3 separate regions of the Homo sapiens genome follow, and regions 1 and 2 are each linked to region 3. The links are contacts of gene promoters, found by promoter capture Hi-C in blood cells and fetal thymus (Javierre and others, 2016). All regions are on one chromosome and are shown on one strand. Each heading gives the region's core, a stretch centred on a gene start or on the middle of the fragment in contact. The rest is flanking DNA. Distances are from core to core; before and after follow the strand shown. Region 1 holds the start of CDK4 (cyclin dependent kinase 4). Region 2 holds the start of SCAT2 (S-phase cancer associated transcript 2). Region 3 holds the start of DDX23 (DEAD-box helicase 23).

Region 1 (3,206 bases), core at 707-3,206, 8.9 Mb before region 3:
AGAAGGGAGGGGACAGAGCCTGGGACAGACTGCCAAATTAAGGTTCCTCAATAGAAAGTGATGGAGAGACAGTAATGTTCCCATGAAGTATTCAAATGTTTTGGATGGACTAATGAATGAATCAGAAAAAGGGGCTGGGACCCAAGCAGACAGAGAGGACGTCTTCTGTTGCAAAGACAGTAAGCTGTGAAGGTCTTATGTGGAAGGTGAGGCTGAAGTGGGGAATGCTGGTGTGGGAAGGGAGTTTGAAAAACTCACAGACAATTATCTTAGCCTTCCAGAAGGCTTACAAAGCACCCACCCCTAGCAAGGTAGCCAATAAAACATTCACCTCTTGAGCCCCTTAGTCAGTTCAGTCCTTGAGGTTTTTCTTACTAGTGTTCCAGCTGCCCTTGCCAGGAGGGGCCCAGGGCTACAAGTATCAGGATGGAAAGAGGAGGCATCTGTATTAATATGTATTCTATTTTGCTCTAAGTCATGGTTTATATTCATCTTCTAGTTTGAACTCTTATATTCTCAGCCAGATGGTTAAGGAAAACAGAAGTTAGAGTGGAAGGAGTGGCAAATAGGGTAATAAAATGGCTTTAGATTTTAGACAAATTCTCACAAATGAGACACTAACCGCTTTCCTCCTTTACTCCCATACCCCCAAAGGGCTGGGAGATAAAGACCTTGGAGCCAATAAAACAAAGTAGGAGAAATCTACTTGTGTCTACCTAGGTGTCTGGGCAGAGGCCATTTGGGAACAAGTGTGTTCTGGACAGTGCTAAGTGCTAAGAAAGCGGCACTAGGGAAAAAGAGGGAAGCACAATAACTCCAAATGAGTAGTCACAAGGTTTGCAGAAGGGGGCATGTCATTTTCATTCATTGTGGTGGTCTGGAGGGTGCAGGGGGTGTGGTGGTAACTTTCTTGCACATGTGCAATCCTGTATCCGTCTTATATATGATGTGATAAATAATATCATATACATACATATATACATAGAAGCATATATGCACACATACAAATATCACATAATCATAGAACCTTCCTACTGGAAAAAAAAAAAAAACTTAAAAGGTCAAGTATTCCTGTCTCCTGCTCATCAATAACTTCTCTGCCAGATGGCCTCAGGTCTTTGCATTAACACTCCCAGGGAGGTTTGGAAGTTGGAAAAGTGAGAGGATTACCTTGTCACTGAGCCTGTTGGATTACTGTATTAATCTGCCTTCCGTCATCCTTTAATCGTAGTTTTGCCCTCAAATGGGCATTGTTTACTCCCTATTGTAGAAGACCCCATTGTTGGCTACATCTTTATAGATAGTCGTACCACTACTTTAAAGGGCCAGTGACAGACACCAAAAACAAAATAAAAACCCACATACACACTGGAAGCAAGCACTCAGTAAAATGTTGTAGAATTAATGAATGAAACAATGACACAAATGAGAGTATGTTTTCTCATGGTGGAGCGAAAAGGTGACAGCATCACCTCTGGTACCCCAACTCCCACCCCCTCCCCAATGCAGACAGGCTGAAAGACCGGTAGTGAGACTGGAGTTCAGCCTTCAGACCGGTAGTGAGACAATCCTTCAGCCGGGAGTTGGGCTCTGGGTGGCCTAGGTTGCCATGGCACCGCCTCGGGCTCCACCCTCTCTTGTCCCCCTCACCGCTCCCCCCCTGCAGCGGGGGTTGTGGCAGCCAGTCACGTGCCCGCCGCGTAGCCACACCTCTGCTCCTCAGAGCAATGTCAAGCGGTCACGTGTGATAGCAACAGATCACGTGGCTGCCATCGCCCCTCCGCCCCCTTACACTCTTCGCCCTCCTCCCAGTCGAAGCACCTCCTGTCCGCCCCTCAGCGCATGGGTGGCGGTCACGTGCCCAGAACGTCCGGCGTTCGCCCCGCCCTCCCAGTTTCCGCGCGCCTCTTTGGCAGCTGGTCACATGGTGAGGGTGGGGGTGAGGGGGCCTCTCTAGCTTGCGGCCTGTGTCTATGGTCGGGCCCTCTGCGTCCAGCTGCTCCGGACCGAGCTCGGGTGTATGGGGCCGTAGGAACCGGCTCCGGGGCCCCGATAACGGGCCGCCCCCACAGCACCCCGGGCTGGCGTGAGGTAAGTGCAGTCCCTTCCCAGGAATGAGAACCAGTGCCCGCCCCCCTCACAGCTTTCCACGCGTTCGTTTCGCGAGCTGGTTATGGAAGGGTCGCTCAAGGGCGGGAAGTGGGGCCTTTGTGGTCATGGGAAAGTATAATTTTAGGGACTGAGGTGTAGGATCTTCGATGCAAGGCATGTGTCATGTGTGATCTTTGTGCGGGGCGCGATTGTCCCAAAGGAAAAAGCGTTTTCTATTGCAGGGCCTCACGTGGCTGGAGGGGTTGGTATTGAGTCATTGTGTTATCTCTGGGGCCGGCCCCAAGGAAGACTGGGAGCGGGGGATGGGATGCTGGTGGTGTTCTTTGCGCTTTTTTTTTGGGAGTCCCTTTGTTGCTGCAGGCTCATACCATCCTAACTCTGTAAGCGACTTTTGGTGATAGGAGTCTGTGATTGTAGGGTCTCCCTTGATCTGAGAATGGCTACCTCTCGATATGAGCCAGTGGCTGAAATTGGTGTCGGTGCCTATGGGACAGTGTACAAGGCCCGTGATCCCCACAGTGGCCACTTTGTGGCCCTCAAGAGTGTGAGAGTCCCCAATGGAGGAGGAGGTGGAGGAGGCCTTCCCATCAGCACAGTTCGTGAGGTGGCTTTACTGAGGCGACTGGAGGCTTTTGAGCATCCCAATGTTGTCCGGTGAGAAGGTGGTGGAGGGTTGGGCGTGGGGAGTAAAGGGAAAAGACAGCCTATAGGTGGGGTGTGATGATCTGTAGAGAAGTGGGGACCCTGAGGAAATAATGAGAGGCCATGTTGGGTTAAAGGGGATTGAAAAGTGAGCATTTACTCTGGTCAGGCTGATGGACGTCTGTGCCACATCCCGAACTGACCGGGAGATCAAGGTAACCCTGGTGTTTGAGCATGTAGACCAGGACCTAAGGACATATCTGGACAAGGCACCCCCACCAGGCTTGCCAGCCGAAACGATCAAGGTGAGTGGGGTTGGTAGGCATTGAGAGGTGGATTGGGACCTTTGTAGTAGAACCTTCTGGGATTTCAGGTATGGTGCCTAGTTTCCAGTGCATCTGTACCTCCCCTTTGAAACTAGGATCTGATGCGCCAGTTTCTAAGAGGCCTAG
Region 2 (3,220 bases), core at 74-2,573, 5.4 Mb before region 3:
CCCAGTAGCTGGGACTACAGGCTCCCGCCACCACATCTGGCTAATTTTTTGTATTTTTAGTAGAGACAGGGTTTCACCATGTTAGCCAGGATGGTCTCAATCTCCTGACCTCGTGAGCCACTGCGCCTGGCCTTTTTTTTTCTTTTTTCTTTTCTTTTTTTTTTTTTTTTTTTTTGAGATAGAGTCTTACCCTGTTGCCCAGGCTGGAGTGCAGTGGCGCGATCTCAGCTCACTGCAACCTCCGCCTCCCGTTTAAGCGATTCTCCTGCCTCACCCTCCTGAGTAGCTGGGATTACAGGTGCGTAACTGCCTCAGCCTCCCGAGTAGCTGGGATTACACCACGCCTGACTAATTTTTTTGTGTCTTTAGTAGAGACGGGGTTTCACCATGTTGGCCAGGCTGGTCTCAAACTCCTGACCTCATGATCCACCTGCCTTGGCTTCCCAAAGTGCTGGGATTACAGGCGAGAGCCGCTGTGCCGGCCTACCTCTTGTTTTTCTGGGTTGCCCTAGCTTGCTTGTGATGCCCTCTCTGTAATTGCTGAGGACTGATAAGTTTTTTGTTTGGTTTTTTTTTGAGACGGAGTTTTGCCCTTGTTGTCCAGGCTGGAGTGCAATGGCTTGATCTCGGCTCACTGCAACCTCCATCTTCTGGGTTCAAGTGATTCTCCTGCCTCAGCCTCCCAAGTAGCTGAGATAACAGGTGCCTGCCACCACACCTGGCTAATTTTTGTATTTTTAGTAGAGACAGGGTTTCACCATGTTGGCCAGGTTGGTCTGGAACTCCTGACCTCAGGAGATCTGCCCGCCTCGGCCTACCAAAGTGCTGGGATTACAGGCGTGAGCCACCGCGCCCAGCCTCTTTTCTCATCTCAATGGGCCTTAGGTGCTGTAATCTATAGTTATTGGTAGCTTTACCAGATAGTTCCTATGTATATTTAAGAGAGAAGGCTGAGAGCTGTTATGCCTGAAAGACTCCAGAAATTTGAGAAGCTACTCACCCTTTCCCTTGGAGATTTCCACAAGGATAAGGTTGTGTTCAGAGGCTCATCTTCTTTTCCTCTGTCATGGTATTGGGATTCTATCTTAATCACTCCATCATCCTGCCAGCCATGTCTCATTTCTCATGCTGGAAAGCTCCCTCCTCCTAAGCTCAGTGTGAACCACCAGTCTTGATGCTTTATCTGGTCTAGGCTCTAGCCCTTAAATTGTTTGACTGGCTTTGTGTTTCATTTGACCCTAATACTCCGGGTCACACTGTCTAAAAGAGAATTATGTCCCCTCCGATGTCTGAGTGCATTTCTCATTTCTTACTGCTGCTCCTGAGCAGATCTGTAACTTCAAGGTTAAGATAAGACACATTCCATCAGAACTATGTCGTCATCCTTGCCAGCTTCTGATCTGTGACTGTCTAGGAGATTTACAAGACAATTGCATGCCATCCTTTAAAGAATATTATGGTTGTACTCTGACTCCTGGCATCAGGCCCAATTCGATTTGTCAGTGGTTACAAAACCCATTTCCCAAAAAGAAAAGGACCTCGGCCCATGTGCCCTTTAGGCAGTTCTTAAGGGTGGAAAGGAGGGAATTGAACTCAATCTTTATTTTCTGATGTTTTGTGGGGAGGGGTGGACACCAGAATATTTTTGTCTCTTTCCTCATTAAATTCACTTTTCTTTCTCTGAAAGGTTTCACCAAAATGTTAGTATTGCTGTCATTCTCTCCTGTTCCTTATTCCTTCACAGAGTTACTATTAGTCTTTTCATTCTGCCATCTTTAAAGTTTGTCTGAGTTTTAAGGAATAAGTATTTTGCCCTTGAGAGAGAACGTACCTACCCTGTTCTCTGAAGGTTTATTCGTTTTCCAGTGCCTAGTTAACAAAGACACTGTTCCTCTTTTTCTTGCTATCTACTAATGTGTTGAGCTGCAGGAGTTACTGCATGTGATATGGTTTACTAGCTTAGGAATTTGGAAGGTCACATATTTTCTTCTGCTGTTGTATTCAGCCCTGACATATTTTTACAGAAGGTTCTTTTTGGGGGACTTAATAGATCTTTGGTTTCAACATAAACTCACTTTTTCCCTCGGAGGTACGTAGGGCAGGTAGTACAGATTTATTTAGCCCGTTTAAATGATGCCGGGGTTAGATGGAAAATTTATTTACTCAGGATAACACATGGCAAGTTAATCAGAGTCAGGATCCTATTTAAATGTTTGTTATTGTTTTTATATCCCTTAATTATGAAAAGTTAAAAGGTAAGAGTTGAAAAATGCCGTTTTTAATTGGAGGTTTGCTGATGGTCCATTCAAATCTGAGGAAATCTTTTGTAATTAAAAAATTTCTGGCCGGGTGCAGTGTCTCATGCCTGTAATCCCAGCACTTTGGGAGGCCCAGGTGGGCGGATCACAAGATGAGGAAATCGAGACCATCCTGGCCAACATGATGAAACCCCATCTCTGCTAAAAATACAAAAATTAGCTGGGCGTGGTGGCACATGCCTGTAATCCCAGCTACTTGGGAGGCTGAGGCAGGAGAATCCCTTGAACCAGGGAGTTGGAGGTTGCAGTAAGCCGAGATGGCGCCACAGCACTCTAGCCTGGTGACAGAGCGAGACTCCGTCTCAAAAAAAAAAAAGAAAAAAGAAAAAAATTTCTACTTTGGTCTTACACCCTATGGTTTCTTCTGTTTGACAGTCGTAATAGTCACCATTGTGCTTCTTCTCAACTGAGTTCTTTTTTTTTTTTTTTTGAGACGGTTTCGCTCTTGTTGCTCAGGCTGGAGTGCAGTGGCGCAGTCTCGGCTCACTGCAACCTCTGCCTCCCAGGTTCAAGCGATTCTCCTGCCTTAGCCTCCCAAGTAGCTGGGATTACAGGCAAGTGCTACTATGTCTGGCTAATTTTTGCATTTTTAGTAGAGATGGGGCGTCACCATGTTGGTCAGGCTGGTCTCGAACTCCTGACCTCAGGTAATCCACCTGCCTCGGCTTCCCAAAGTGCTGGGATTACAGGTGTGAGCCACTGTTCCTGGCTCAACTGAGTTCTTTGCTTTTGATTGTCCCTTTTTCTTACTCTCCTATGGCAGCCACTTCTGGCTTTAAAGTTCCCACATCTATAAAGCAGAGTAGAGTTTTGGAGCTCTCTAAAATGTTCTTTAGAGCCAGAAGAATGGAAAACTTACAGTATTTCAAGTCTCTATATATCTTTTTTATTTATCCTAGTAC
Region 3 (3,240 bases), core at 91-2,590:
TGCAGTTTTTGAAGATTCTGGCCTACCATGGTTGGTCTGATTCTTAGTTTAATCTGTGAATCTGTGAGTCGAGCGCCCTCTCGTGCTTTTGTGGTGAATTACACCTAACAGATCTCAGAGCTCTCTTCTTTCCCTTGCGTTCTCTCTGGAGTAGAAGCTGGGAGGTGAAAGGCTGCAGGTTCTAAGAGAAGTGTGTGTCTCCGAGGGTTACTTTGGGCCATTGTACGTGATGCTCAGGGCTTTAGGATTACTTGGGTCTATCCTGAGGCTCTGCTTGAGAGCTTGGGCATATTCAGAGAGAAAAGGCAGACCTACAGCCATGTGGAATTGAAGCAACAAACCTGCTGCTGGCAAAATGGGAAGGGAGGTCCGAGATACTTCTGGTTATCTAAACCGTTTCCGCAACTGCAATGTTTTGTTTTGTTTTGAGGGAAAGAGTTATGAACCCATAAGACCAAAGAGAAACACAAAGTGAACTTACGATTTGAGGTTAAAACAACAACAACAACATCAACAACAACAACAACAGCAACAACAAAACTCAGTGGAAGACTGAAGTAGGGGAATCTGGGGGAAGAAAGAAGCAAAAATACCAAGATAGCTCAACAATTGGTCACATTCCAAAGGGCAAGAAATTGAGGAAACCAGGGTTCCATCTGGAATGTTGAGAAAACAGGTGCTAGAGCCCAGGAGATACCATCCTTCCGGGAGGACTTTAGAGCCCATTGTGTGGGCTCATTTGGAGCTGTAACAATAACTGGGGGTTGTTATGGCATTCACCCGGCTGCAGGGGCCAAGGTTGCTAAAACGTCCTCCTAAGCCTGGGATAGTTCCACACACAATGGAGAACTGCATCACCCTCCTTGTGAACCTACTCCGGTAACCTGATCTTTAGTTTGTCCAACTGTAAAATGGGGCTAGCCCCATTCTCACAGAATTATTATAAAAACCGCTTTTCCACGAATGGTATTTATTGTTACTGCGGTTGTTAGCTATAATTACGTACTACAGATATCTCAGGAAGCCCTTAAATTCCTCCACTGTAAGCCACGGGCAAGGACAGTCATAGACCGTAGTTTCTAGGAAGACCAGCCGATTCCAAGAAGGGTGCTCGGCGGGAGAACCTAATGCCGAAAGCCTATTGGCGAAAAACTCTTCCTTCCCGGACGCTAACGTCTGGCAAACCACATTGCCCGGCAGACCCCGCAGCCTGGGGCCGGCGCTCAAGTCATGCATTCTGGGATTGGTAGTTTCCAGGCCTCAGTGTCGGCCTGTGCCGCCCAGCTCCAGGAACTCGCCTTCCCAGCTTGCCTCGCGGCCGGGGGGGTGGGGGGTGTTCATCTCCGCGACCAGGAAACGGGAAAGATGGCGACGGCTCCGCGACGTTGAGGCCGCGTTGGGCGGTTCAGACTCAGGGTGGTGAGTCCCGGGCGGTGGAGGCGGTTCCCACGAGCTTACAGAAAGGGCTAGAGTCAGGGCACGGCGGTGGCCCCTGCCTCCTGGATGAGGCGGGAAAGAACGCCTCAGAGAAGGGGCATGAACCCGGGAAGCTCGGGCGGGCTGGAGTGAAGGGGCGCGGGCCCCAGGGGTAGTGTTGGCTCCTCCGGGCACAGGCCACGTCCCTGCACGATATTTTCCTCCCAGGACTCTGCCTATGGGCACAGCGCCTCTGATACCCCCAGTCTGACCTTATTCTTTCATGCTTAAAGTAGCCTTTGGTGCAGCCAAACTGGAACTCTGGCTTTTCTCTCGCAGTCAGTCCATGTTTTCCCGCCTCTGCGCCGGCCGTATTATTTCTTTTGCCGGGAATGACTTCTTTTCCGCGTCCTTAATTACATATCTTAAAATTCTACTTATACTTAAAAGCTCAAGCGTCACTTCCTCTTCCAAGCCTTCCACATCACCTTTTACAAGTGAAAGGAAACGCCTTTGAACACCTGTATTACTACATCTGAGCCTTGATACTCTTCTTGGTATGTGTCTCATACCCCCTATTGTTCTTTTTTTTCTTTTCTTTTCTTTTTTTTTTTGAGACGGAGTCTCGCTCTGTCGCCTAGGCTGGAGTGCAATGGCACGATCTTGGTTCTCTGCAACCTCCGCCTCCCGGGTTCAAGCGATTCTCCTGTCTCAGCCTCCCGAGTAGCTGTGATTACAGGCGCACGCCGCCACGCCCGGCTAATTTTTTGTATTTTTAGTAGAGACGGGGTTTCACCGTGTTCCCCAGGCTGGTCTCGAACTCCTGAGCTCAGGCAATCCACCTGTCTCGGCCTCTTAAAGTGTTAGGATTACATGCGTGAGCCACCGCGTCCGACCTCATAACCCTGTTGTTCTAAACACTTCCTGTGAACAGAATTTATTTTTGTAACTCACATAGCACCTAGCACTGTGCCTTGCGTACAGTAGATGCTTGTTAAATACGTCATTGAGTGAAAAAAAAGAATGTGCCCCTGCCCTGCAAGAACTGAGGACCTGAAGATCTGGAGGTTTGAGAGGAAGGCTGCTGGGAAGCATGGCCAGAGTCAGCCTGGTTATTTGGCCCTTGTGATAATAGAACCTGTAATAAAAGTTGCCTGTATTTACTGTCTTCTTCTCATTTTTCATTCTCTTCCAAACTCATTCCACTCAGGCTTCCATTCCCGCAATGCAACTGAAACAGCTCTTGTCAAGGTCACCAATAATCTCCATTTTTCCAAATTCAGTGGTTACTTCCCTGTCCCTTATTCCCTCTCCACTTCGGTGGTACTTGACACAGTTGACCCCTCCCTCCTTGAAACATGTTTTTGGCTTCTTCGTTGCCATGCTTTTCTTTGTCTTTTCTCACTGGCTGCTAGTTCTTTTCAGTCTTTTTCTCTGGTTCATCCCGTGGCTAACTCCTGTTAAAGTGTTCCAGAGCTCAATTCTGGAGCTTCTTCTCTATTTTTTTTCTTTCACTATGCTGCCTACTTAGGTAATATCATTTAGTGTCCCATGGCTTTAAAAGCTATCTGTGTATTGGTGACTCAAGTTTTTGTCTACAGACCCTCTCCCCTAAGTTCAGATTTGCATTTCTCTTTGCCTTCTGGGAATCTCCACAGATATTCTCACACTCAACCTGGCCAAAATGAAACGTTTGATTTCCTCTTAAATCTGTTCGTTCCCTAGTCTTCTCCAGTTTGTTTGCTATGGCACCACAAACTATTAGGTTGCTGAAACTATAAATTTAGGAGCTATCTTTGTGTCTGCTCTTTCTGCTTCTTCCTT

What was found. Contacts are between HindIII fragments. The CHiCAGO score rates a contact against its expected background, and 5 or more counts as called.
Region 1: a contact is called between the fragment with the promoter of CDK4 here and the fragment with the promoter of DDX23 in region 3, in 1 of 17 cell types (monocytes). The highest score is 7.6, in monocytes.
Region 2: a contact is called between the fragment with the promoter of SCAT2 here and the fragment with the promoter of DDX23 in region 3, in 1 of 17 cell types (neutrophils). The highest score is 5.7, in neutrophils.

Annotation. Positions count from the first base shown.
Region 1 is chr12:57,751,060-57,754,265 of GRCh38, reverse strand. CDK4 (cyclin dependent kinase 4) reads left to right here and starts at 1,956. Exons shown (of 8, transcript NM_000075.4): 1 at 1,956-2,091; 2 at 2,530-2,766; 3 at 2,924-3,059; 4 at 3,176-3,206. The coding sequence starts at 2,549. RefSeq lists silencers at 1,507-1,626, 1,857-1,936, 2,667-2,806 and an enhancer at 1,597-2,330. The HindIII fragment of the contact is 8,675 bases long and covers 1-3,206 here.
Region 2 is chr12:54,260,718-54,263,937 of GRCh38, reverse strand. It overlaps SCAT2 (S-phase cancer associated transcript 2), which reads right to left and starts at 1,323. Exons shown (of 2, transcript NR_157844.1): 1 at 1,001-1,323. The region is part of intron 1 of CBX5 (chromobox 5); the gene reads left to right. The HindIII fragment of the contact is 3,994 bases long and covers 1-3,220 here.
Region 3 is chr12:48,850,263-48,853,502 of GRCh38, reverse strand. DDX23 (DEAD-box helicase 23) reads left to right here and starts at 1,340. Exons shown (of 17, transcript NM_004818.3): 1 at 1,340-1,419. LOC105369755 (a long non-coding RNA gene) reads right to left here and starts at 1,782. Exons shown (of 2, transcript XR_944925.3): 1 at 1,689-1,782; 2 at 954-1,453. RefSeq lists enhancers at 206-415, 1,295-1,484. The HindIII fragment of the contact is 5,632 bases long and covers 1-3,240 here.